Regions from separate parts of the Homo sapiens genome. Here regions 1, 2, 4 and 5 are each linked to region 3. Evidence: promoter capture Hi-C in 16 types of primary human blood cells and fetal thymus (Javierre and others, 2016). All regions are on one chromosome and are shown on one strand. Each heading gives the region's core, a stretch centred on a gene start or on the middle of the fragment in contact. The rest is flanking DNA. Distances are from core to core; before and after follow the strand shown. Region 1 overlaps LOC105369844 (a long non-coding RNA gene). Region 2 overlaps LOC105369844 (a long non-coding RNA gene). Region 3 holds the start of BBS10 (Bardet-Biedl syndrome 10). Region 4 has its middle 6.6 kb from the start of GLIPR1L2. Region 5 overlaps LOC105369844 (a long non-coding RNA gene).

Region 1 (5,225 bases), core at 1,549-4,048, 790 kb before region 3:
AAAAGCCATATTCAAATTTCTGACATTTTCACAAGTGTAAGTTCTGATATATTCATTTAAAAGTCTGTTCGAATTTGTATCTTAAAACAACCTTGTGTGTTATTTCTAAATCTCTTATTTTCAAAAGAAACAGGCTCAGAAGGTTTAGGGACTATAAATATTCATTGACATTGGTTCAATTGCCAAATCAGTATTACAGTAAGTCAGTATCAAATCATGAAGAAATACACAATGAACTCAGAAGCATGGTGGAAAAAAAAAAAAGCCCCTATGTGTATGGCGTTATCAATGTAAGGTTATTTTCGCATTTTGGACATATTTTTCAAACTCAGAAATTCATTCCATATTGATTCTGTTTTTTCATAACATGCCAAAATGAAATTCTAAAAACTCAATGTTACCTCTTCAGAGAAGCCTTTATTCTCTCTGTCCCTCCAGACTATAAATGGTTTCTTTCTGTGTTCCACCAACACTTGGCTTATGACTTTTTTTTAACATTGCCACATTACTTTCTAGTTGTTTATTTGTATCAATCTCCAATTTATACACTATGAGTTCCTTGAGGGCAGGGGCCCCTTCTGGTTCCTCTTTTCTAGCCCATAGCATGGTGCCCAGTACATAATAATATGTTCAACAAATGTTTGATGATTGAATATATGCAGAAAATTTAAATTATGAGACAGTGTAAATAAATAAAAAGGAAAAGGAGTTTACAACATATAAACACACAGCCAGCCCAATCAAATGATTATCTATCTATCGTCTTCTCTTTATCTCTCAGAAAAGTGTCAGGCATTTTGATTCAGAAATTCTAAACAGCATGCAGCCATAGCCACCTCAGAAGGACCTGAGCTGAGGACACCACCTGAGGATTATGGTTGTTAATAGAATTATTTTTAGTCCCTCTGTTTAGCTGAATGCATTCCTTTGTGGGGAATTTAAAGTGCTTCATTCACATGTCCGCTTAATTGTCACAATCCTGTGGCTGTGTAGGGACAAGATTAGCACTGCATTTCATGAATGAGGAAGCTGGAGAAGGTTGACTCATTCAATGCCACTCAGGTAGCTCTTAGGAAAGAGAAGATTGGAAATGCTTTTCTTATTCTTGGTGTTTCTGCTGTGTGGAACTGCCACTGATTTTAGCATCAGAGTAATCAAAGCTTGACTGCCACTGAGAGATCCAAACATTCACAAACCTGAGAGTCTTGGTGGCTAAACTGCCACAACCAAGAACATACTGAGTCAGATCCTTTTTACCTCCTAATATGTGAGGCCTGAAGCTCAGTTTCTGTGAATTCCTTCCTTGGAAACAGCTACATAATTTTCAGGGCCCTGTGCAAAGTAAAACTGCATGCTCCTTGTTCAAAAAGTATGAAGAATTTTAGGAATCTTTCTGCAGATCATTCAATGAAGCATGCAGGGCATTTCTGAGGTTCCTCATTCAGGCAAGTAGCTTTTTTCTTGCTCTTCTATCATCGCCCAGATCTTCATCAAGTTTTACTGAACTATTACTCCTAATATCTTCTATCTTCTTTACTTGTTTTCAGTAACATTATTCAGTGAACCTCTATGCTGGCATTGGGATGAAATTCCTAAAATAAAAATCTGTTGAGGTCATTACCTTGTTAAAAATCTTTCAAAGATTATTTCTTATCTCCTGGGTAAAGTAAAACTTCTTATGCTTCTCTTTCGGTTATTTACTGGCATATAAAAAAACACCCAAAACTCAGTAGCTTAAAACAGTCACTATGTATTTGCTCACAATTCTGGGTTTGGCAGTTGAAGAAGAGATCAGCTGGGATACTTTGTCCCTGCTCCCTAGGGTATTGCTGGGCTCACTTATGTATTTTGTGGTCAGGTGACAGTTCAGCTAGCGACTAGCTGGTCCCAGATGGCAGTTGACTAGGGCTTTCAACTAGTGTGCCTCAGTTTCCCTCCACATGGGCTCTCCAGCGAGCTGGCTGGGATCTTCTCATAAGGGAGCTGGATTTTAAGATAGTAAAACTGAAAGCTGGAAATGCCTCTTGAGGCTTCAGCTCATAAATTGCACAATGTCACCTCTGCCACATTTTATTCATCAAAACAGATCATGAGACCAGCCCAGATTCAAGATGTTGGAGAAATAAATTTTACCTCCTGAAGGAAGGAACAGCAACATTACATTGCAAAGAGGATGTCTACAGGGTTGTGAGAAATTTGTGGCTGTATTTTGTAATACCTTAGTAACACCTTGCCTTGCATTCTTCATGACCTACACTTACTGACCTTTCCTTCTTTGTCTCCCGTTACTCTCAAAACACAATATTGTTTTGGTAATTATGATGATAATGATAACAACAACAGATACAGACATTGATATTATCTTTGTGTCAGGCATCATAGCTCATGTGCATGTATCATGGCATTTTATCCTCCAAATTCCCTATAATGCAAGTAAATGGATATTTTATCCCCATTTTAGAGATGAGGAAACCGAGACATTCAGGAGCTTACTAGGTCTCACAACAAAAAAGAACCTAAACTGGGATTCAAACTCAGGTATGCATGATTCCGACATTCGTTAACATTGTATCATGCCACACAGCTATACCAAAGTGTTTCTCTTACTTAATGTGTACTCACATGCCTTTATGACATTCACATGCTATTCCCTTTGCCTGAAAAAGCCTATATCTATCTCTTTCCTTGTCTTCCTTTTCTGTTTCATCCCCTTCTTCACACACAACAGAAAAGCACATACACAACTCTTTATGAAAACGTTTCTGATTCTCCCAGGCAGAGTTAGGTGTCCCACTGTGTGCAGATCTGCTTATCTGTTTCTTCTTGAGCATTTACCTTTTGACATAGGAATATTGTCTTATTTTTCTTTCTTTTTTTTTTTTTTTTTTGAGATGGAGGCTCACTCTGTCACCCAGGCTGGAGTGCAGTGGTGTGATCTTGGTTCACTGCAACCTCTGCCTCCCGGGTTCAAGTAATTCTCCTGCCTCAGCCTACTGAGTAGCTGGGATTACAGGCGCGTGACACCTCACCGGCTAATTTTTGTATTTTTAGTAGAGACGGGGTTTCACTATGTTGGTCAGGCTGGTCTCGAACTCCTGACCTCGTGATCCACCCGCCTCGGCCTCCCAAAGTCCTGGGATTACAGGCGTGAGCCACCGCACCCAGCCTAAATATTGTCTTATTTTTCTATGCAACTCTCAGGATTAGTATTTACCTTATAGTCATTGTTTAATAAATGATTATTGAATGGAACTTTTTAAAGCATGCTAACTTTGATAATAATTAAGATTATAGTCAGGCTTGTTGATAATTTTTACTGAAATAAGCAATCGAAGTAGTTGAAATAGCCAAAACAATTGTCCATGTAGAGTTTCAGACAATCTTTTGCCGGTGCCAGTTGCATTAGACCATTCATTCATTTATTCAATTATTCAGGCTTTTACAGGACATTGTGTACTTTGACAAGGCATTCATGCATTCAGTCACACATTAAGAAAATTAACAGATGTAAAAATGAACCAGTCTTATGTTTAAATAACACTGGATTTTCTATTTTGCTTTGTTTTGTTTTTGTAATCAATATAAACTACAGTCTAGATTAGCTAACTTAACACCCATTCCCAACCCTGTTCTTTGCTTGATTACCTTCACTATCGAGGCTATAAATACTATGTACTCACTTTCTTAGCCTCGCTTGCAGATGTGGGTAGTCATGTGGTACAGTCTTGTCAATGACACATAATTTGAAATACGTTAGAAATTGTTTTGTGAAAATTTTATTTTCCTCTTTAAATAAAGACTAGACACTCATTTCCCTTTCTCCCTGCTGTGAGTACAGACATAGTGCCAGGAGTTGTAGCAACCATCCTATAACCATGACAAACAACCATCATGCTATGCACTGCAAAGTATTAAGACAGAAAAAAACTAAATCCCCCATGACACAGTTGAGCTGCTGTATAAGCCTCCTGACTCTCTACATACAGACTTTATGCCAAGTGAAAAGGGAGAGCTCTATTTGTTTAAACCACGATTGGTCAAATTTTTTTCTTACTTGTAGCCAAATATATCCCTACCTAAGGCACATACAGTTTGGCAATACAGTGTGGAAATTACCTAAAAGGATGTGTGTGTTTTGGGGGAGGGGATTATTTTATTTAAACAACAACAGTGTAACATGAGTCTATAAGGGCAAAGATACTTGTTTTGTTTTGTTTTTATTCACTGTAATATCTCCACAACTTAGAGTAGTAACTGGCACATAGTAGGCATTCAATAAATATTTGCTGGCTGAGTTAATAGTATAAATGAGGAGCTGCCTCTTGAATTGTGTATCCTAGCTTCGCTTCTGCAAGGTGTATTTTAGCTGTATACCTTAAATGGCTTTCTGAAACCTAACAGCAACAAAAGTTTCATGCAGCCTCTGACCATAAGAAGAAGCTTCAGGCATCCTCAGAAGAAGTCAATAACTATAAGAGCTTCTAAATCTGGTGAAATCCTATTCCCGTTTTATTATAATATCATAAAAGTCAATTTAAGGGGATACCTGCAAAGGATCTGAAATCACAGCTATAGTGATGTTACATTTGACCTGGGTTCACCTGCTGCATGACTCCGTGTGCACAAATCCCTCATGCTATCTCTCCGACAGGATGTGATCTGGTAAGGAGGCTTTGGAAATGTAGTCATAACATTTGCAGTTTATTGCCTTCTCTCTGTATTCTTCATCAGAGAGATGACAGAGGTTCATGAGGCAGAGAAGTGTTACTTGTTGAACTTTGGGCTTTATGTATGTATACGCAGGTATTTTACTATCTTTCGCATCCAACAACTCTCACTAGATCAGAAGCAACAGATGACATTTGAGTGAATTCTATACTTAAATAATTCATCATGATGCATTATTTCTTCATCTATCTTCAAGAGATATTTTTTAAAGAAGGATCCTTCCTCTTGTTGATCCACTCTAACAAAAATATCTTGCTTTATTTTCAGCACGTAATAGGTCTTTGAGAAAATACTTGTTGTGTGCACAACTAAATTATAAGCTGTCAATGTAAAGAAAAATATGTTAATGTTAATTTAAATAACTAAGAATGAAGTTCATTATCGTGTCAACAATTCATTTGTCACCTTCTGAAAAAAATATTGTCAGAATCACTATTATTCCTCCTTATTAGAGATTTCTAATAAAAGGTCCATGATGATCCTTTAAAACTAGTCCT
Region 2 (5,850 bases), core at 1,664-4,163, 770 kb before region 3:
TCAGTGGGGTTTAGGGCATCTGTGAACCCCCCGTCCCTCACCAAATCTTATGATAAATAGTGTGTGATAGATGTCTATTGTATCAACTTGGCTTAGAACTAAGTCTTCCATATGTCTTTTCTGCAGATTTCTTGGACAGTGTGGACCTCAAGAGACATTTTGCATAAGATGTAGAAAGTGGAAGTGAAGCAGTAGCCATCTTGTTTTTTTATGCTTGGAAGATGGATGCAGGGCTCCAAGCACTGTTGGAACTCATGCATGTTGTCACTTATCCACAAGCTCACCTTGTTGGTGAGGGGCAGCAGCTGGGCTCCTGCCAGATCCTCCTGCTGCATCAATTTCCCTGAATCCTGGACCAGATGCATATTTAGCTCCATGATGGAAGGCACCAGTTTCTCCTTCATTCAGCTTGCCTTTTCTTCCTCTGCTTCCCATCCATCTTCTTTGCCCAGCTGTCTGTGGACTTCAGGTGCCAGCACCAGGCCAGAAACTACAGCTTTATATCCAAACTCAGACCTCTTCACCAGTTTCCACAGCACTGTAAGGACAAATCCCTACAATTAAGAAATATATATTTCTTAATTGAAAATTAAGAAATTGAAAATTGAAAAATATATATTTACTTATGTAAATATATATTTATATGTGTAAAGATTTACTTATATATAAGTAAATATATATTTATATGTAATATATAATATAAATATTTGCTTATATATTTATATATAAATATATACATACATTATATATAAATATATGCATATTATATGTGATATTATATACAGTTAATAAAATATAAATATATATTTATATATTAAATATACTAAAATATATTATAAATATATATTTTAATAACTGTATAAACTAATAAGCGTGTATGGTTTTGCTTAAACCCTGATACATTGTATGTTAAAGTATAATTTTTTTAAAGTTATAAATGTATGGCCAGGTGCCGTGGCTCATGCCTGTAATCCTTGCACTTTGGGAGGCTGAGGCGGGTGGATTACTTGAGGTCAGGAGTTCAAGACCAGCCTGCCCAATGTGGTAAAACCCTGTCTCTACTAAAAATACAAAAAATTAGCTGGGCATGGTGGCATGCTCCCGTAATCGCAGTTACTCAGGAGACTGAGGCAGGAGAATCGCTTGAACCCAGGAGGCAGAGATTGCAGTGAGCTGAGATCACGCCACTGCACTCCAGCATGGGCAACATAGCGAGACTCCCTCTCAAACAACAATAAAAGCGGGCAGATCATGAGGCCAGGAGATCAAGACCATCCTGGCCAACGTGGTGAAACCCCGTCTCTACTAAAAATACCAAAATTAGTTGGGCATGGTGGCACGCACCTATAATCCCAGCTACTCAGGAGGCTGAGGCAGGAGAATTGCTTGAACCAGGGAGCCAGAGGTTGCAGTGAGCCAAGATTGCGCCGCTGCACTCCAGCCTGGTGACAAAGCGAGACTCCATCTCAAAAATAATAATAATAATAATAAGTTACAAATGTAACTCTCATACAAATTCATAGTGAGCATAGTATGACAAAGATTTACTTAAGTTATTAATGAGGATCCAGCGGGATGTCAAAAATAGTTCAAAGAAGGATGTAAGTCACCAATGAAAGTATAAGAAAGAATGCGGGAATATGATTGCTAAATTAGATTCAAAACTGGTTAATGTACTACACGACAATCAAAACATAAATTTTAGAATTATCTCCCTTTTAGAGAGAAATCATTGGCATCTCATCTGGACAAAAATCATTGTCATCCAATGAAATTTCTACAAGTTAAGAAGTAATTTTATAATTTGGACTCTAATCAATAGTAAACAGTAATCAGGCAAAGCTATATTTCAAGAATCAGATGAGCCTTCATCAGGCTTATTGGACACTGCTCAAGCAAAACTTGGGAATGTCATAGTTATCATTTTGCTTTATTTCCAAATTTTGGAAATTTTTTTAGCATATTTATATGTATTTTTCTACAGAGAACAGCCAAAATCTAAAGGGATTTTCAGTTTTTAAAAAGAGAGAGTAAAACCAACCAAATTTAAAAAATAAAATAGAACAGATCCCATTCGAATTTTTCAATAATTGCAAAAAGTAAGAAAAACTTGTTTAATTCTGGAAGTTCTTGTTTAACTGAATTTTTTCTTCATTGCTAGTATAAAAATAAAAATGCTCAAATATCTCATGGTTTTAAAATAACACAGCCATAAAAAGCAGTTCATTTGTTATTGTAAGCTACCATATTATCTTTTTATTTTACTTTAAATGAATAGCCAGCATTTACTGAGGTCTTACTATGTAGCAGGAGATTTGACATACATTATCTCGTAACAACCCAGTGATGCAGTTACTGTCACTGGCCTTGTGCTCTAGAGGAAGAAGTCAGCTCAGAGAAGTAAGTCAGCTCCACTGTGAATATTTGGACCCAGGGTTTTCTCACTTTATTTTATTATTACTATTTTTTTAGAGACAGGGTCTTGCTTTGTCACCTGGGCTAGAATGCAGTGGCATGATCACAGCTCCCTGCAGCCTCAAACTCCTGAGTTTAAGTGATTCTCCCACCTAAGCTTCCCAAGGCCTGCAGGTGAATGCCACCACGCCAGGCTAACTTTTTTTTATTCTTATTATTATTTGTAGAGATGGGGGAATCTCTTTTTTTTGTTCTTATTGTTATTTGTAGAGATGGGGGAATCCTTATATTGCCCAGGCTGGCAAATTCCTGGGCTCAAGCAACCCTCCTGGCTCGGCCTCCTAAAATGTTGGGATTATAGACGTGAGCCATTACATCCATTATAGACGTTATAGACGGAGCCATTACATATATTAGAGACCACAGATTTGCCCACCACTAGCTTCTTTCACCTCTCCCAGAAAACTCCTTGAAAAATAAACATGTTTATTACATATTCATTGCCTACTTCTTGTGCAATCAATGCATAGTGTATGCAAACTGCCTTGCTAGCTTGGGGCCTGGCACATAACACAAGTTAGTTTCCTCCATCTCTGTCCACCCTCCCATCCCTTACAGAAGTAACAGGTTGCTAAGGTTCTGTTTTATCCCTTTTTCTTGGCAATATCACAGTTTTAAAAATAAAAGCTATAAAAATGACCCCAAAGTCTACTTCAAATTCCAGATATCGCCTCCATATATCCATTGGCTTGTTGGGTTTCTCCATAAGATGTCCCTCTAGCATTTCAAATTGTGTCTCAAATTAGAATATACCTGGCACAGAGATGTCATCATGAATTTAAGCTTTGTTCTAATATGTTTCTCCCCTAATAACGATGGGCATATGTGAGCCCAGGGTGTAGGAACATCAGTTTTACTCAGTGGTAAGTAAAGTGTAATATTATTCCTCCCCTAAAATATTCACATGGCTCATTCCCTCATCTCTTTGAAATTTTTGATAAAATGGCTCCTCCCTAAAGAGACTACTTGACCATCTCATCTATCACATACCTCTTAGCCCTCCCAGTCCTCCTGTCTTGTTCTATTTTTTTTCTAGCACTTATCACCTACTAAGACCCTATATAATTTACTTTTTTGTCATGTTTATTGTTACTGTCAATCTCACTTTACAAGAATGATGGTTCCACAGGGCAAAGATTTTGTTTGTTTTGTTTACCAGATTGTCAATGCTGCCTAGAGCAGGACACATGGTTGGTACTCTATAAATATTTGTTCAGTGAATGAATGAATCGATGATAGCAAAACAAACACAGCTACGTTATAGTATGCACAGAAAACATGTATGAATTGAAAATGTGACACATCAATGGAAATAGTTAAATTTTTTCTATAACTTGATACACATTTTTCACTTAAATAAAAATTTTAAAGAAAACTTCTAACACTACAAAAATGAAAATCACTATCACTTGCTTTAAATACAAGACAACCTTACTAAAAATTATGTAATTACTAACATAAATATTACATATGTACTCTTTAAAATCTCCATTTCACTGGGATCACACACCTCATACTTTGGGAAATATTAGACTAAGAAATTTAAGGAGATTCTATATTAGAGATTACTAACTCCTAAACCTGGAAGTGGTTATGGAAACTATCTCATTTTAGAAATAAAGAAATGGAAGGTGAGAGGGTTTGAGTGTCTTGTTCCAAGCCAGACAGTGATGTTTAGGGGTCTGTACCACCTAATTATTCTGCTCTTCCATGACACATGTTTGCTTGTCTCTAGCAGTGTTGTGCCATTCACAATTAAGCAAATCCTCTCTGGCATTTACCTGCTTCTGAGCCTTTCTTTGTCTGAACATTTTTGTTTGCTTTCTGACTCCTTTACCCTTATAGACCAGATTCATCCTACACTTTGTGTTTCTTTTGCAGCATTTATTTGTGCTCTTCTGTATTATATTGTTCTTTTTTTGTACTTGTGTCATATTTCCTACTTTTCTTGAGCTTCAGTATAGTAACAGTTTTATTTTTAAACTGTCCCTCTGTGATACCTAACATTATACCTAATAGTGAGTTTGTGTTCAATAAGATTTTTACAAGAACTCAATTGAATCTTACTACTATTTGGGAACAAAGCATTAGAAAATGAGATGCTGGTGGTCTTTATATACTATGGGGCCCATCTGTTTGCTATTACCTGTTTCCCACCTGCTGTCATTACCAGCATAAAACTCCATCTGCTACTTCCTCTTCTCTTCCAAGCCTGACTTGGCACTAAATCTGTCAGACTCTACATTAGAGTTGACTAGTCAGCATTACTTTTCCGTAATGATTTTTCCTAATTACTACATCTTATTTTATTTTATTTGGTCCTCGAGAGTATCCTTAAGACGTGAGTCAGGTAACTAGCACTAAAATCAGGACAAATCTGTCAAAACTGTTTTTTAAAAAGCATTAAACAAGCATTCAGATTTGAAATTGAAGTAGAGGTTACAGATGGGTGAGTGTGACCTTGGGAAATCACTCAACGTTTCTGGTTCTCAGCATTCTTTCCTTTATGATGAGAGAATTAAGCGCAGTGTCTCTGAGATCCCTTCCAAATGTAACATCCCTGATAGCAAAGGTTCATCCCTGAGGACATCCTCATCCACTGCATTTTATTCTCTCATCATAGAGGAGAGAATGCTGAGAACCATCCTCAATGGCATCGCCTTCACAAGTCTTTCCTGACCCCTATCCTGATCAAACTGAATCCCATCTTTCAACTTCTAAATGCTTAATTCTCACCTATGTTCCTGTCTTACTTTATCCTATACTGTCGTCAAGCTAGCTGTGCCTTACTCCATCACACTGCCTTCTCCCTCAAGTCGTGGGTTGCTGAAAGCAGTAATAATCTTTGCAACTCCCTCAAAGGTCTAGTAGAGTGTGTTATAGCTAGCACAGGCAGTACACACTGGACAAATTAATGAATGAACTGAAAAAGCATAATATCATAATGATTCTGTCCTGGAAGAAATAAAAACCAAAAATGCTACTGAACAAATCAGATAATTATAGAAATTTGAACTGGGCGTGGTGGCTCACATCTGTAATCTCAACACTTTGGGAGGCTGAGGTGGGCAGATCACTTGAGGTCAGGAATTTGAGACCAACCTGGCCAATATTGGAAAACCCCGTGTCTACTAAAAATACAAAAATTATCCGGGTATGGTGGCTTATGCCTATAATCCCAGCTGTCTGGGTTGCTGAGGCACAAGGATCACTTGAACCCATGAGGCGGAAGTTGCAGTGAGCTGAGATGGTGCCACTGCACTCCAGCCTGGGCAACAGAGTGAGACTCTGTCTGGAAAAAAAAAAAAAAAGAAAGAAAAGAAAAGAAAAAGAAAAAAAAAAAGAAATTTGAGCCATAGCCACCATTATGAATTT
Region 3 (5,483 bases), core at 313-2,812:
ATCTAAGGATAAGAGGTTTACAAAATTTCACCAAAGCAGTGTTAGGTATTTCACACTGCGAAAAGGCCTGTGGTGGTACAAATGGAGAAAGACCAATGATCCTCCGGATAAGAGAAACTTCTTCTGATGATAAACACTCAACCACTGATATGCCATTCACCCCTGCATAATAACTAACTAAATCTGGTTGTTTCACACTAGATATGAGCAATTTTACATTCTGACTATGTAGATGTTTCATTATTGCTTTTGTCTTTTCCATAATCCAAAATTGAGATGTCTGAAACTGTGCTTCTGAATTTAGAATAAACTCTGATCCAGAAGTGGAAAAAAGAGGCTGAATGGTTTCTGTTACTATCACCATTCGCATGTCACCATCTGCTGGGCGGTACACAGAAAAATCTTTCTGAAGCACAAGACCAGCTATGATCCTGGAATCTGAAACAGGAAGGCCAGTGACACCAACATTCAACTCTACAAAATGGTCATCCACTAACTCAAATACACCAATCCCACTTTTACAAGTCATACACTTGAAAAAGTAGTCACACATCAACTGTGAAATAAATTTATGATTATTTCTTCCCACTCTTCCACAAAAGTATGCTTCTAAGAGCAACTCTAAAGAGCTCCTACACAATGTTCTCTCTTTAGCAGACGAAAAGATAGACAAAAAGTGTCTACTTAGGTACTGGTCCATAATACCGTCTAATATTTGTGTCTGAAACGTTAGGAGAGCCTGGGAAATAAATTTCCACCGAGAACAATTTTTCCAATGCCTTCCATGGGTTTGAATGTTTTCACACATCAAAGGATCCTTTTCTCTGTCTGTGATTGCATGAAGTCCTCTAAGCAAATGGCAAAGAAAGATAATAAATGTTTTTGCACCATCTCCTGTTTTTTTGAGATGACTGGAAACACAGTCCACTATCATCCTGTACAAAAAAGAAATAAAGCAACTCATTTTCAGAAGGCTGGCTTCCCACATCTTAAAACCATGTTTACACAGCCATAAGCATAAAATGAGAATATTGTTCCTTGGATACATCCTTAGTTTTTTCCTTTCTTGGAAAAAACTCTGCTCTATTCCAAGATTCCACCGTTGGGTGGAGTGGGGAGAAGTGGTCTTGAGAATTGGTAAGATTTGGGGTGCAGGAGTGTTCCCTTGGGCAGGGCTCTAATTCCGAGCATACAGCGGTTTCACCCGAGGTCAGTCTTTCTAAGTACGCATCGCCTCAGGATGGGACAAGAGCTCCACAGAGGCTGCCTGGGGTGCCCGGCTACGGGTTAGCGTGTGGGACGCGGGTACCTGGCTATGGGATGCTCTAAGTGTAGCGCCTCCAGGAGGCGGCCTCCATTCCGGCTGAGAAGCACCTCGCCAGTGGGCTTCGTACACAAAACTTGCCGTCCCTCGGGCCCCACGCAGCAGCTCACGATGGCTTCCAGCACCTCGGCCACCTGCAACGCCGCCTTCACAGACCCTGCAGCGGCCATAGAACTTAACATATCTGGGCCGCTTCCCCTTTTTGACCAGCTTGCAGAACACCCGGGCCGACCGAAAACAGGGGTGGGAACGGCCGGAAACGGAATAGGCGGGGAGAAAACCCGGAAGCCAGGAGTCGAAGCCGGGGTAGCACGGCTTCTTGGTTGGGCGAGAGGGCTGCCCTTCTGTCCGCCTGGTGGAAAAGCCCTGCAGCTTTGCCAGGTGGGGTGAGCTGGCCCGTTGTACGCGAAGGCAGAAAAAACAGACTAGGATTTCCAGCAGCTGTGCCTGGAGCGGCAACCCTAAGCCCCTCCCCGGCTCCCTAGGTGAATTCATCTCCCTCCAGTGGCGTCCGCTGCCCCCAAATCCCTTAGTCTCCCGAGAAACTTTCTTCCTAAGTCAACACGGTAGTGGGGCCTGCGTGAAGGAGAGGGCACCCCGGTTGGAACTCTGCTGGCTTTCATCCCCTGCCAGAAGCTGCTTTTTCCGGGGCAAAACCTCTGCCTTGGATTCACGCATGTTCCTGTCCACATTCCCCACGAGTTGCTCTCCTTACCATAACGGAAATAATTTGTAGATGCAGGACAGGTGAGGAGAGCCTGGCCACAGCCATGAATTGCAGGCTTTATGTCTGCTGCAGAGGCTTTACCACATTTCCTAGACTCAGGTATCACAATAAAACTCTAGACACCACAAATATATTAAGCAGAAATGATGCGAAGTCTCTATTTTTTGAGATGGACTCCCGCTCTGTCGCCCAGGCTGGAGTGCAGTGGCGCAATCTCGGCTGACTGCAACCTCCGCCTCCCGGGCTCAAGCGATTCCCGTGCCTCAGCCTCTCAAGTAGCTGGGATTACAGGCATACGCCACTGTGCCCCGCCAATATTTGTATTTTTAGTAGAGATGGGGATGTCACCATGTTGACCAGGCTGGTCTCGAACTCATGACCTGAATGATCCACCTGCCACGGCCTTTCAGAGTGTTGGGATTACAGGCATGAGCCGCTGTGCAGATTTAAATCCATTAATCACGTCGGTGATCAACAGTATGCTTTAAAACACATGGCCAAGGATTATTGTATATAACCCAAAGACAGAAAATACTGTCTCTTATAACATTTTTTTTGTTTTTTAAGAGATGAAGTTTCACTCTGCCGCCCAGGCTGGAGTGCAGTGGCGAGATCATAGCTTACTGCAGCTCCGCATTCCTGAGCTCGTGATCCTCCTGTCTTAGCCTTCAAGTCGCTTTGTGCCTCACTACGCCTGGTTATTTTCTCTTTTAGTAGAGACAGGGTCTCCCTGTGTTGCCCAGGCTGATCTTGAATTCCTGGCCTCAAGTGATCCTCCCAACTTGGCCTTCCAAAGTTTTAGGATTACAGGCATGAGCCACCTTGCCTGGCCTAAAACACAGGCACTTGAGAGCATGGGCTTTGGATTCAGACCTGGATTTGCTCTGTCATTTCCTTACCTGTGGCATTCACCAAGTAACCTCTTTGATCTCTGCTTTTCTCATCTTTAAAAACAATGGGCCTGCCGCAGTGGCTCATGGCTGTAATTCCAGGACTTTGGGAGGCCGAGGTGGGAGATCACAGGAGGCCGAGAGTTCAAGACCAGCATGGCCAACATAGCAAAATCCCGTCTCTACTAAAAATACAAAAATTAGCTGGGCATGGTGGTGCATGCTTGTAATCCCAGCTACTCTGGAGGCTGAGGTATGAGAATAATTTGAACTCGGGAAGGGAGGTTGCAGTGAGCCAAGATTGCACCACTGCACTCCAGCCTGGGCGACAGAGCGAGACCTTGTCTCAAAACAAAACAATCCCCGCCAAAAAAACCAGTGGAGATAACATATACAAAATAAAAATCTCAAGAGGTTTTGAGTAGGTGGAGAATGTTCACTAAACACTTTGCATAGTGCCTGGCATAGTTAGCACTCAACAGATATTTATATTACACCTGTTAGAGGAAAAGGGTCCCAATCCAGACCCCAAGAGAGGGTTCTTGGATCTCATGCAAGAAAGAATTCAGGACGAGTCCATAAAGTGAAAGCAAGTTTATTAAGAAAGAGGAATAAAAGAATGGTTACTCCATAGGCAAAGCAGCCCCAAGGGCTGCTGGTTGCCGATTTTTATGGTTATTTCTTGATGATATGCTAAACAAGGAGTGGATTATTTATGCCTCCCCTCTTTAGGCCATATAGGGTAACTTCCTGACATTGCCATGGCATTTGTAAACTGTCTTTGGTGCTGGTGGGAGTATAGCAGTGAGGACAACCAGAGGTCACTCTCGTGGCCATCTTGGTTTTGGTGGGTTTTGGCTGGCTTCTTTACTGCAACCTGTTTTATCAGCAAGGTCTTTATGACCTGTATCTTGTGCCAACCTCCTATCTCATCCTGTGACTTAGAATGCCTTAATCATCTGGGAATGCAGCCTAGATCTTAGCCTCATTTTACCCAGCTCCTATTCAAGATGGAGTTGCTCTGGTTCAGATGCCTCTGACGCACCCACCAAATTACTGGAGTTGCTCTGGTTCAGATGCCTCTGACGCACCCACCAAATTACTGTGGTAGGTCACCACTCTCCTGGTTTATTATTCCCACAAGTGATATTTTGTGAGATGCAGAAGATTCAACTAGCATAATGGCACAACATACATCATCTAGAGTCGAAGCATGCCAGTATTAGCAAGAAAATGATCTTGTAGATGTTTCACGAGGTTGGACAATGAGGGGCCGTTTTCCTTAATCCTTATTGCTATGAACAAGATAGGAGGAACCGGCAGGCCCTCCCATCTTTTTCTCCCCAATTAATAAAACCAAACCAAATGACAGCCAGAAGCAACTGGACCCTGAGCAGAGAGCAAGAATGGGAAGAAAGGAGGGTGGGGGAAAACCAGAGAGGAATGATGTCTCGGAACTCATCTGATGTTGACTCAGTATGGACTAATAGGTGATCTGAGGGGGGAAAAAAAAACCCTTTCATATGGATTTCGTATATGTTTAATAGTAGGGTTTTTTTGTGGTGCTACTCATAACAAAGGGGTTACATTACTCAATATAGATTCAAGCAGTGGATTATATTCCTGACATTTAGAAGTGAAGTGCTATTAGAGTTCTATTTAAGTGTACCACGGAGATACAGATTCAAACTTGTGCTTTTACTCTTAAAGTAAGAGTCGGCTACCACTCTTACTCCGCAGCTTTTGGAGACTTTCAACCTCTCTGAGCCTCAGCATCTTCATGTATAAAATCTGGCTAACGTCCACCTAAGGTTCTCATAGAGGATTCGAGAAGAATGAATATAAGGCACCAAGCAAAGCATACTTCAGGGATTCTCACTGTTGAATCCCTTTCAAGCCCTTTGCCATCCTTTGCAGCTATCCCTATCCCCACAAAAGGGGGGATTAAAACAAATTAGCAATAATTTAGTCATCATATTGTATTAAAAGTCACTTGATCACCGTTTGCTCTTTTTAAAAATTTTATTTAGAAGCCTACTTGTAGAAGTTAGCATAATTTTACAGATTATTAGAAAAATTCTTTTCTTTCTGCAAACAGTTATAATAGGTTAGGAATAATAGATTAGAAATGTACTACATTACAAAACAGTGGCCTATAACTATCTGTACATTTACTGTGCACCTTAAGGAAAAGAATTTGACAGTGTGCTGTACTTACACTGCAGGTAACATATTTTTATTCTATCACACAAAACTGACCAGTGGTAGTGCTTGAATTTATGAATGGCCATTAAACAGAACATTTAAACTCAGATGTATATTTAGCATGCTAAAAAGTGAAAAAAATTTCAACTGAAGTTCTGTGGCTCATCAGTTCAAATGTTTCATGGCATTTTTTTTCTTTAAGTGAAAAATTTTGATACTGTAAAACAGTTTTACATAATAAATGCAAAAAGATAACATTTTCTAAATTTTTAGAAAGAATATTCACATTCATTTTGTCATGGGTTTCACGTGGCTCTTCTAAATATATTAATCATAT
Region 4 (5,589 bases), core at 1,962-4,461, 960 kb before region 3:
ATCTCGGCCCGCTGCAACCTCCGCCTCCCAGGTTCAAGCGATTCTCCTGCCTCAGCCTCCCGAGTAGCTGGGACTACAGGCATGTGTCACCATGCCCAGCTAATTTTTGTATTTTTAGTAGAGACAGGGTTTCACCATGTTGGTCAGGATGGTCTCGATCTCCTGACCTCGTGATCTGCCCACCTCGGCTGCCCAAAGTGCTGGGATTACAGGCATGAGCCACCACACCCAGCCTCTTATGAAATTTGAATGGCTCCCTGTGCATCTGGGATTTTAATCCTTGGACATTTATCTAGCAAATTTCTCAGTTGCCCTATTTTACATTTTAACGAAGTAAAGTCTATCTTTCTACCTTTCAAAGTTGGCTTTTATGTGTGGATCATTTTGCTTTTCTCCTTTAATGCTTCTCATGCACAATTATCTGAATCTTAAATTTGAATTATAGAAAAGATCAATCGAGTATGTAAAGAAACAATGAGAAAGAGTCAATAAAATAAAAACAATGTTTCTAATAACATCTATACAGAGAACAAAATAATACATTTTAGTATCTTCAGTCTTATCCCATGATCATTTTCAGTAAATGTAGATTAAAAATACATTTTTAAATTTGCTAGCTTTTATCCAAATCAAAAAGCATATGGAATTAGAGTATTATTTCCTTAAAATTTCAAGTGTAGACCAGGCATGGTGGCTCACGCCTATAATTCCAGCACTTTGGGAGGCCAAGGTGGGTAGATCACCCGAGGTCAGGAGTTCAAGACCAGCCTGGCCAACATGGTGAAACCCCATCTCTACTAAAAATACAAAAATTAGCTGGGTGTGGTGGTGCATGCCTGTAGTCCCAGCTACTCAGGAGGCTGAGTCATGAGAATCACTTGAACCCAAGAAGCGGAGGTTGCTGTAAGCCAAGATCATGCCACTGCACTCCAGCCTGGGCGACAGAGTGAGACTCCATCTCAAAAAAAAAAAGAAGAAGAATTTTAAAAAATAATTTCAAGTGCAGTGTACAAGTGTACAGAAACTGAGAACTTAAGGAAACTCACAAATCATCTGAGATAAGCAAGAGGCTTAAAGTTTATCCCAAAATTGCTCTTGTTTTTAAAATTAAAGCTATATCTGTTATACATGACAACAGAAATATTAAATGGGTATGCAAAAAGTATATAAGTAGCAGAATTTAAATAATTTAATGAAACCTTATTTTCCACATTCCTTGTAAAGAAATAAATGACTCTGTCAATACCCTCTAACAATTCCAATGCCCTCAGGAAACCGAATGTGATAAATTATTTCCATCACTTTCAATATAAAATAACTTAAAACTGTTTTGCCCCAAATTTCAAAGTTCAAAAATCTACAACCATTCAAACCTTATTAGAAAATGTACACAACCTGTGATTTAATACGTATTTCATGAAACTATGATTAAATAATTCTCATGTATTACATGCCTCTTTAAATTTTTTGAAAATATATATCATAGAATATAATGCATTAAAATTTTTTTATATGAAGTATATAATGGGAGCTGATTCACTGACAGATACGAAAGATTGAATATTTGCAGAACATTGTCAGCAAACCCCACTTCTTTCTACAGAAACCAAATGAGATGCTTTTGTGTGTCCTTCCATACTCCTATCTTAGTCACCTGGGCTTAAAATCTAGCTTTACAACACTAATCAAAAGAAACCAAGATAGCTATATTAATTTTGGCTGCAGCCAACTTCAAAACAAGGAAAGTTATCAGGATTAAACAGAGGCATTACATAATAATAAAGGGGTTAATTCTCCAAGAAGACATTACAATCCTTAATGTATATGCACCTAACAAGAGAGTGTAGAAATATATGAGACAAAACTGATAGAATGACAAGAAGAAATAGACGAATCTACTATTATAGTTGGAGACTTCAAAACACCTCTATCTGAAATGTATAGATTCAGCAGGCAGAAAATCAGTAAGGACATAGTTAAACTCAACAACAACATCAATCACCTGGATGTAATAAGACGTCTATACATTATTCGACAATAGCAGAATATATATTCTCGAGCTCATATGAAACATTTACCAAAATAAACTATATTCTGGACCATAAAACACACCTTAACAAATTTAGAATAGAAATCATGTAATGCCTGCTCTCAGACCACTAGTAATTGAACTAGAAATCAGTAACAGAATGATAACCATAAAATTCCAAAATAAGAGATTAAATGGCACACTTCTAAATAACACATGGTCCAAAGAAAAAATCTCAAAAGAAATTTGAAAATATTTTTAAATAAATGAAGATGAAAACAACTTGGCAAAATTTGTGGGATGCAGCAAAGCATTGCTTAGAGGTAAATTTGTAGCATTGAATAAATATATTAGAAAAGAAGAAAGATCTAAAATCGCATATGCTTTCACTGTTAGAAACTAGAAAAAAAAGAGCAAATTAAACCCAAAGTAAGCAGAAGAAATAATAAAAATTTGAACAGAAATCAATAAAATTGAAAACAAAATTAATAGAGAAAATTAATAAAATCAAAAGCTGGTTTTTTAAGGCATAAATAAGATTGATAAGCTTCTAGCCAAGCTAACAGGAAAAGGGAAAAGACATAAATTATCAATATCAGAGATGAAGGAAGGAACATCACTACAGATCTGATAAACATTAAAAGGATAACTGAGCAACACTGTGAACAACTCCACACCCACAAACTTAATAATCTAGATGAACGGGCCACTTCCTTGAAAGACACATCTCTCACAACTCATGCAAGAAGAAATAGACAATCTGAAGAGGCCTATTCCTATTTAAGAAATTTAATTGATAACTAATAACCTTCCAAAACAGAAAGCACCAGGCCCAGATAAATTCACTGGTGAATTCTACCAAAAATTTAAAGAAAAAAGTGATCGATTCTGTATAATGTCTTTCAGAAGATAAAAGCAAACAGAATACTTCTTAACTCATTCTATGAGGCCAGCATTACCCTAATACCAAAATCCTGCAAAAACATTACAAGAAAAAAAATACTACAGACCAACGTCTCTCATGAACATAGATGCAAAATTCCCCAACAAGATACTAAGCAAATTGAATTCAACAACGTATAAAAATAATTATATTACATGATGGAGTGGAATTTATTCCAGATTGCTCTGGTCTAAATATTTTCCCCTCCAAATTCATGTTAAAATTTAATTTCCATTGAGGCAGTATTGAAAGGTGGGGCTTTAAAAAGATTATTGGGTTATGAGGGCTCTGCCCTCATGAATGAACCAATACATTCATAGATTAATGGATTAATAGGATAATAAGTTAATGGATTAATGGGTTATCACAGGAGTGAGACTAAAGGGCTTAGTAAAAAGGGGAAGAGGGACCAGAGCTAGCATGCCCAACCTTCTTGCCATATGATGCCCTGCACTGCTTCAGGACTTTGCAGAGAGTTCTCAACAGCAAGAAGGTATTTCACCAAACGCAGCCCCTCAACCTTATGTTCTCAGCCTCCATAACTGTAAGAAATAAATTATTTTTCTTTATAAATTACCCAGTTTCAAGTATTCTGTTATAAGCATCAGAAAATGAACTAAGACATAGGTATACAAGCCTGGTTCAATTTGCAAATCAACTAATGTAATAAATCACATCAATAGGCTAAAGAAGAAAAATCATATGATTATATCCATAGATGCAGGAAGAGCACTGGACAAAATCCAGTATGAACTCATAATAAAAATTCTCAATAAACTAGGAATAGTAGGAAACTTCCCTGAGATATTGATAAAGATATCAATATTTACAAAAAAAAGCTATAGCTAACTGCATACTTAATGATGAGAAACAGGAAGCTTTCTCACTAAGATCAGGAACAAGGCACAGATGCCCCTCTCATCACTGCTCTTCAACTTCATACTGGAAATCCTTGCTAATACAATAAGACAAGAAAATAAAAGGTTTATAGATTGAGAAGAAATAAAAATGTCTTTGTTTGCCGATGACATAATTATTTATGTACAAAATCCAAAGAATCAACAAACTCCTGAAACTAATCAATGATTTTAGCAAGGTTGCAGGATACGAGGTTAATATAGAAAAGTCAGTTACTTTAAATTGCTTTCCTATATACTAGCCATGAACAAGTAGAATTTAAAATTGGAAACATAATAGCGTTTAGCACACACAAACAAATACTTAGTCATAAATCTAACAAAATATTTACAAGATCTGTATGAGGAACACTACAAAAGTATGATAAAATAAATCAAAGAACTGAATAAATGAAGAAATATTCCTTGTTCATAAATAGAATGAAGAAGGAATTTGTTCATTCTATTTCCTTGTTCATAAATATTCCTTGTTCATAATAGAATGAACAAGGAATTTGTTAGGATATCAGTAATTCCCAATTTGATCTATTGATTTAATGTAACCCCAATCAAAATTTCAGCAAGTTAATTTGTGGAGACTGACAAAATTATTCTAAAGTTTATATGAAGAGGCAAAAAAACCCTGAACAGCCAATACATTGGATGAGAAGAACAAGGTTGCAGGACTAACACTACGTGACATTAAGACTTACTATAAGGGTACGTGTCTCAGTCTGTTTTGTGCTGCTATCACAGAATATCTGATATTTGGTAATTTATTTTAAAAAAAGATCAATTTCTTACAGTTCTGGAGGCTAGAAAGTCCAAGGTTGAGGAGCTTGCATCTGGTGAGGGCCTGCTGGCTGTGTCATCTGATGGCAGGAGTTCACAGAGGAAGAGAGTGCATGCACATGTGCAAAAGAAGGGAGCTGAACTCACTCTTTTATCAGGAACTCACTCCCTCAATATTTTACCAATCCTGTGATAATGGCATTAATACAATTCATGAGGACAGGGCTCTCATGACCCAATCACCTCTTAAAGATCCCACCCCTCAATGCTGTTGTATTGGGGATTAATTTTCCAGCATATGAATTTAGGGGGACATATTCAAACAATAGCAAAAATACAATAATTTAAAAGGTATAGTATTGGTGAAAGTAGAAATAAATCCATGGAACAGAATAGAGAGCTGAGAAATAGAACAGCATAAATAAAGTCAACTGATCTTTGACAAAGGAGCAAAGGCAATATAATGGAGAAATGTAGTCTTTTCAACAAATGGTTCTGGAACAACTGAACGTCCATATACAAGAAAAAAAAACCAGTCTAAGCACAAACTTTATACCCTTCACAAAAATTAATCAAAATGGATCACAGACCTAAATGTAAATACAAAAGTATAAACTCCCAGAAGGTTATATAAGAGAAAATCTAGATGATCTTTAATTTGGCAATAACCTTTTAGATACAACACAAAAGGTATGATTTATGAAAGAACAAATCGATAAGCTGGGTGCCATTAAAACTAAAAATTTCTACTCAGCAAAAGACATTCTCAAGAGAATGAAAAAACAAGCCATGGCCTGGGAGAAAAATACTTACAGAAGATATATGCAATAAAAACTATTACGCACAATATGCAAAGACTCTTTAAACTCAACAATCGAAAAACAAACAGTTTAATTTAAAAATGGGTCAAAAACCTTAATGGACACCTC
Region 5 (5,721 bases), core at 242-2,741, 810 kb before region 3:
TTAGTCCTGGGAAAGTGGGTGATGAGGGGGTCAGGAACGGCGCAGGTAGAAAAATGTTCTCTTAGTGGAATGTAGTATTGGCTGTTCACCCAATTTCTGCAGATGACCTAAATAACAATTGCCTTAGAGATGCTGGTAATTTGAAATAAAAATTACAACCTCTATCCGATGTTGGCTAGCATCTCTTGAACCATCTAGTCTTTTATTTATTCCATAAAAATATATCAAGTGCCTTCTCTGTTCCCCAAAGTGTACTGGGCCCTACAAATACTGCATTTAATGAGACAGATGTTGTTCCTAACCTGCATATGAACTTGCAGTGTAGACGTGAAGGGAGACACTAAACTACAGTAAACTAAAAAGCAGCGCTAAACACATGTTTGCGGTCAAGTATTACATATGGGACGCACATAGTGCTATGGAAACCTGTTATAGGAATGTCCTTACTTCTTCCAACTGGTAGAAAAGGACACCAAAGTGATCCTCATCTGGGTATCCCAGTGCAAATGACTTAATTTCCTGGGCTTTGGTTTCCTTGGATAAAAGTAAGAGGAATTGGAATAAATGATTTCTAAAGTCCCTTTCAGTGATAAGGTGCTGGAATCCTTTTCAAATCTTCCCAATCCCAAAAGCATATTCCAATGGCATATTCTCTGCAAGAATAATTTGAGGACTTGTTAATGACTAAGTGCAGACAATGGTTATGTCTTTGACCATCCCTAGAGTGCCAGCAGTGAAGCTTAATTTTAGAAACCTGGGATGCTCACTGACCTCTACTGGAAATACACTACGAAGAAAGTCCTTGTGGAATCCTGTAGGGTCTTACCATCTGTTTCACAAATGCCCCTTTTCTGTGTGCGTACCAAGCTGGGTAGGGGTACTATTCACTTCTGATTCATAGTGAGCTGTCACGTGCCCTAAAAGTGCTGTCTCAGAAGGTTGTATCCTCTCATTTTTCTCCCTTAAGTAATCAAGTAGATAAACAAAACCCCCAAATTATTCTTGTTAGCCTTTCATCACCAAAATAAGGGGAAGAGTCACATAAACAGAGAAATAGAAACCTGCTTATGTTTTCCATGGTTTCTGAAGTAAAGATGCAAATGACTTCTGTAGTAGATGCTGTAGTATGGCTCTTTCAATACCTTTTCCAACCCTTCTCTTGTTTTCCTCTATTATTGATGCCAGAAAATGGAAATGCTTAACTCTCAGTCTCTTTCAGGTCGTGGTAGCTCAATTCTGGCCTATAAGATGTAGAGGAAGTCCCTAGAAACCAAAAAGGCTTCCTATTGCTTCGCTTTTCTCATTCTTCCTGTTTGGAACAGGCATGTGATGGCTGGAAATACAGCAACAATAATGAAACTGTGAGGATGAAAGTCATGGTGAAGTTGATGGAACAGAAATAAAATGAACTTGGTTCTTTCATGACATATTAGAAAAGCCGCCTCAGCCTTGAACAATCTTCATTAAACCTGATATTTAAATGTTTACTGGGTTTTTGTTTGTCACAATGAATGTAATTCTAACTGATCAACTTCTAATAATAATAATACTGATTGTATACAGAAAGCTCATATATAGAAACTTCAGGGTGGCCTTGGTGCAGTTGGAAGTAGCCTAAAATTAATCAGAATATCTTCATACTGGTTTAGGTTGTATAAAATCATCCTTGTTATTTCACAGTATTTTATCTTCTAGGTATAAGATTTTGATCAATAACTATTAGAATATTCAAACTAAATGGAAAAGCTGCCAGTCCCTACATTTACTGACAAGAAGACTAAAATACTTTTAATTTTGAGAAGCTCAGTGTTGTGACCACTCTGAATTCAATGGTGAGGTGATGTTCCCCATTCAGAGGGATAGAGTCTAAGGCTAAAATATTTGTTTTTAAAAATGCAAGGTTGTCTCAAGCTACATATCATGGGGCATATTAAACAAAAGTTCCCACTCTGCAGAAAACATCCCTCAGATATTTAAACGTTTTGGGAATGTGAGGGGTTGTGACTTATTACACAAAAAGTTTTGAAAATATCACCACTCTAGGCTCTAGAGTCAGCCTACCTGGCTAAAAACCTTTGTAAACCCTTACTGGCAGTACAATTTTAACAAGTTATGGAACTTCAGTAATGTTCAGTTTCCTCATTTGTAAAAAGGAGTTATAACAACAATTACCTCCTAAAACTGCATCTACTGGATAATAGTTACATTTCCAGTAAATGCTATCAATTACAATTATTGTGGCAGAAGCTTTACCTTAAAGTTTGTTTATGTTTCATTTTTGGTTGCTATTACCTTTCTTTACCTGTGTTTAGGTTATGTGGGTCTTATGGATAAAAAGTCATCAGCAGTGTTTTTTAATAGATGATATGTAAGCCCACTAGAGTCCTTGGAGTCCTCGAAGCACCTTGAAGGCAAGAAACATTTTTGCCCAGTGTCCAGCACAGTGTTTGGCACATAGTAGGTGCTTAACAAACATTTGTTAAATAAACAAGTAAGTGACTGCTATGAAAGGAGATAAAGAAAATCCCTTGGGCAACTCATTACTTTACATTTATAAGGGGCCAATATAAATAATAAAATAAATAAAAGCTATATTTAGAGCATAAAGTACCCAATGTCTCTGTATACTAACTTCTGAACTCCTAGAACTTGTTTTTATCTACAGTGTTACTAGCATTTTGAAAAGATCTCAAATGCCTGGGCTTTCTTTGTTATTTATTAGTTTTGTTTGTTCTGTTCAAGTAGTATAGCAATTGTGTGGGAATTAAATTGAAACCGTATGAACGATGTGTTAAAATCTAACATGTTCAAACAGGGGAAAGCAGAACCAGACAAGAAACAAATTTCAAGTCTCAAGAAGCCAATTTTGTATTTCTGCAGACCCCACATATAGAATATAGGCACTGTATTAATAATACATTAATGCTTTTGTCTTCTAAAGAGTGATTTGCTCAACAATAGGCCTTCCTCGGCAGTTTTATGCTGTAGTTGACTGGCATGTATTGTCCTTAAACACAAAAATATAACTATAAATAAAAATGTAAACTGATCAGAGAAGGGAACTCAACATATGCCCCTGATTTCCCTTAGGCATGCTTGGGGATACCCACACTCTTGCAAAGAGAGACAATAAAACAATGATTTCAGGTGCTGTCACTACAGAACAGGTAGAATCAAGAAATTCCTGAAGACACTGAACTGCAATTTTCTAAACTTCAGGTTAGATGAAAAGTTGATGTCTGCTACCTTGTTGATATTTGACACATTCTTGGGTACTATATCTGTTATGAATTCCATTAGTTTTGTTTGGTTACAAATAACAAAACAAGCTAAAAAAGCTGCAGCTTAAAATACCTAGAAGATTATTTTCTTTCATGTAAAGTAGTCCAGAGATAAACAGTCCTAGATTGGTATAAACATATCAAATATTCTTAAATGTTTTCTCCAACTCATGCATTTTAACTAGAAATTTGGCAGACTTGAGCGATTCCATGTGATGGTGTTGCTATGTTTTGATTAAAATGAACTCTTACCTAATTCCAAAATGTATATTTCCCCTTAAATAACAAAGCATTGTCACAATTTATTATTTTTTTTTTTTGAGATGGAGTTTTGCTCTTGTTCCCCAGGCTAGAGTGCAATGGCACAATCTCAGCTCACCACAACCTCCGCTTCCCAGGTTCAAGTGATTCTCCTGTCTCAGCATCCTGAGTAGCTGGGATTACAGGCATGTGCCACCATGCCTGGCTAATTCTGTATTTTTAGTAAAGACGAGGTTTCCCCATGTTGGTCAGGCTGGTCTCAAACTCCCAACCTCAGGTGATCCGCCCACCTCGGCCTCCCCAAGTGCTGGGCTTACGGGCCTGAGCCACCGTGCCTGGCCTAGAATATTTTTAAAAAGCAATATAGAATGCTACATTGATTTAGGGACAAACATAACAGAAACATAAATATATTTAAAAAACAGTTTAAAAATGTGTTCATACATGCATGTGTGTGTGTGCATGACACGCGCGCATCCCAGGCTCACTAAATTGGAATTGACAAAGACTTTTAAATATGTAAGCCTGTTAGAGTAAGTAGTTAGACAGACATGAGCAGGGCAGAAGAGGGTCCCCCCACCACCCAGGAATGCCAGGTGACCATCAGGTGATGGTCAGGTAGTTGTTAAACTGTCTCTCTAAAGTAATAATTGGTCACACCTGGTGCCAGGGAAAGGCAGTCTCCCAAAGATAAAAAACACCCGAAGTTGGTGGTGAGCAGCTTCCTAATAAGATCTGAGGAGTTGGGCAAGTGGGTTCAAGCATGCACACTAAGAGGCAAAATGGCAGAGTTTAACTCATGTATAAACTTTCTCTAGGAACACGCGACTGATAAGGAAAAAAATGCCTCAAGAGAGCATGCGTACAACTTCAGTAAACACACTGTGCATGCAGCCCCTCCAAAATGCTGGCTGGCACATGTGGAATGCCAACATATAAAACCCCAAGTCAAAGGTAAAACTGGGCAGTTGAATCTCTCACGTTGCCCGCTTGACCCCCCTCCAAGTGTACTTTACTTCCTTTCGTTCCTGCCCTAAAACTTTTTAATAAACTTTCACTCCTGCTTTAAAACTTGCCTCAGTCTCTCCCTCTGCCTTATGCCCCTTGGTTGAATTATTTCTTCTGAGAGGGCAAGAAGTGAGGTTGTTGCAGACCTGTATGGATTCACTGCTGCCAACAATCCCATAATTTCTTTGTTAGAGTATCCAAATAGTATCCATGCAGGAGATATATTTTCCCACAAACATTTGTGAAAGGGAAATAAAAACTCAGGACCCCAATTCACTATGCCAAAAGGAAAAAATTAAACTGAAAGTAGAGTCATACAAGAAGCTGCCTTTCCTTTTGTTCCTAAGCAAATAGCTACAGATAAACCGTTATGTTCACCTTATCTTATGTAATGTGCTGCCAGATGAATACATAATTGACTATTCCCCTACCTGCTCCTATTTTCTTGCAACACATGGGTTACCGTACCCACCCTTCTTTCCCTCCAGCCCACTTTTTCCCCTTTAAATACTGAAGCCTTCAAATTCATCTTTGGAGAAAGGCACAGACCACACATTATTTCTGTGATTCCATGTTTTCTTCTTCCAGGTATGTCCTTAACCTTGGCAAAGTAAACTTCTAAATTGATTGAGACCTGTCTCAGATGCTTTTTGGTTTACATATTGTAGGTCTACAATGTGCAAATTACCTGCATATTGTCTGAGACATAGTTCTTGCCCAAAAGGAGCCCCAAATCCATAAATATAGAACTCCAAAGACACATGCTATATTACGGGTGGTAGGTACTATTACAAAAGTAAACCTGAGAAGAGAGGAGGGAGTGAGGAAAACCAGGGTGGCTTGGAACTTTCTTTGCCAGGTGGTGTGAGAGAGACAAGGGCTGCACAGAAGGGGATCTGCAGGGCCTGAGAGTCTTGTACTACATGGCAGAGAACCATTTCAGCCCCATCAGCACCCTTGAGGCAGTTCTGCCACCCCCATAAACAGAAGCTCCTAAACCTGGCTTAGGCGAGTGAATAGGAAAAGCCATCAGTGCTTAGCAGGCAGGCTCTTTAACATGCATTCATGTTGCTGGTCTGAATGTCAAACAAGGGACAGCAAGGTGTGACCCAGAGAGACAAAAATCACTGCACTGCCCCTGTTTAGGTCCTCTTCTGCATTCTCATTAAAA

The links. The method cuts DNA at HindIII sites, captures the fragments that hold promoters and counts their contacts. A CHiCAGO score of 5 or more calls a contact.
Region 1: a contact is called between a fragment that was not itself captured here and the fragment with the promoter of BBS10 in region 3, in 3 of 17 cell types (M0 macrophages, M1 macrophages and M2 macrophages). The highest score is 6.5, in M0 macrophages.
Region 2: a fragment that was not itself captured here is called in contact with the fragment with the promoter of BBS10 in region 3 in 1 of 17 cell types (M0 macrophages); the score reaches 6.3 in M0 macrophages.
Region 4: a contact is called between a fragment that was not itself captured here and the fragment with the promoter of BBS10 in region 3, in 1 of 17 cell types (neutrophils). The highest score is 8.1, in neutrophils.
Region 5: a contact is called between a fragment that was not itself captured here and the fragment with the promoter of BBS10 in region 3, in 12 of 17 cell types (M0 macrophages, M2 macrophages, naive B cells and 9 more). The highest score is 14.1, in M0 macrophages.

Annotation. Positions count from the first base shown.
Region 1 is chr12:75,552,620-75,557,844 of GRCh38, forward strand. The region is part of intron 12 of LOC105369844 (a long non-coding RNA gene); the gene reads right to left. Among named protein-coding and RNA genes, the nearest start is that of KRR1, 44 kb to the left of the region's middle. The HindIII fragment of the contact is 3,280 bases long and covers 1,159-4,438 here.
Region 2 is chr12:75,575,065-75,580,914 of GRCh38, forward strand. LOC105369844 (a long non-coding RNA gene) reads right to left here. Exons shown (of 16, transcript XR_007063375.1): 10 at 285-554. Among named protein-coding and RNA genes, the nearest start is that of KRR1, 66 kb to the left of the region's middle. The HindIII fragment of the contact is 686 bases long and covers 2,571-3,256 here.
Region 3 is chr12:76,346,853-76,352,335 of GRCh38, forward strand. It overlaps BBS10 (Bardet-Biedl syndrome 10), which reads right to left and starts at 1,563. Exons shown (of 2, transcript NM_024685.4): 1 at 1,310-1,563; 2 at 1-935. The coding sequence starts at 1,506. OSBPL8 (oxysterol binding protein like 8) reads right to left here. Exons shown (of 24, transcript NM_020841.5): 24 at 4,945-5,483. RefSeq lists enhancers at 869-1,818, 1,819-2,768, 1,915-1,964. The HindIII fragment of the contact is 11,737 bases long and covers 1-5,483 here.
Region 4 is chr12:75,381,679-75,387,267 of GRCh38, forward strand. It overlaps a transcript of CAPS2 not described here. Among named protein-coding and RNA genes, the nearest start is that of GLIPR1L2, 6.6 kb to the right of the region's middle. The HindIII fragment of the contact is 1,274 bases long and covers 2,575-3,848 here.
Region 5 is chr12:75,533,949-75,539,669 of GRCh38, forward strand. All of the region lies in intron 12 of LOC105369844 (a long non-coding RNA gene), which reads right to left. Among named protein-coding and RNA genes, the nearest start is that of KRR1, 25 kb to the left of the region's middle. The HindIII fragment of the contact is 1,508 bases long and covers 738-2,245 here.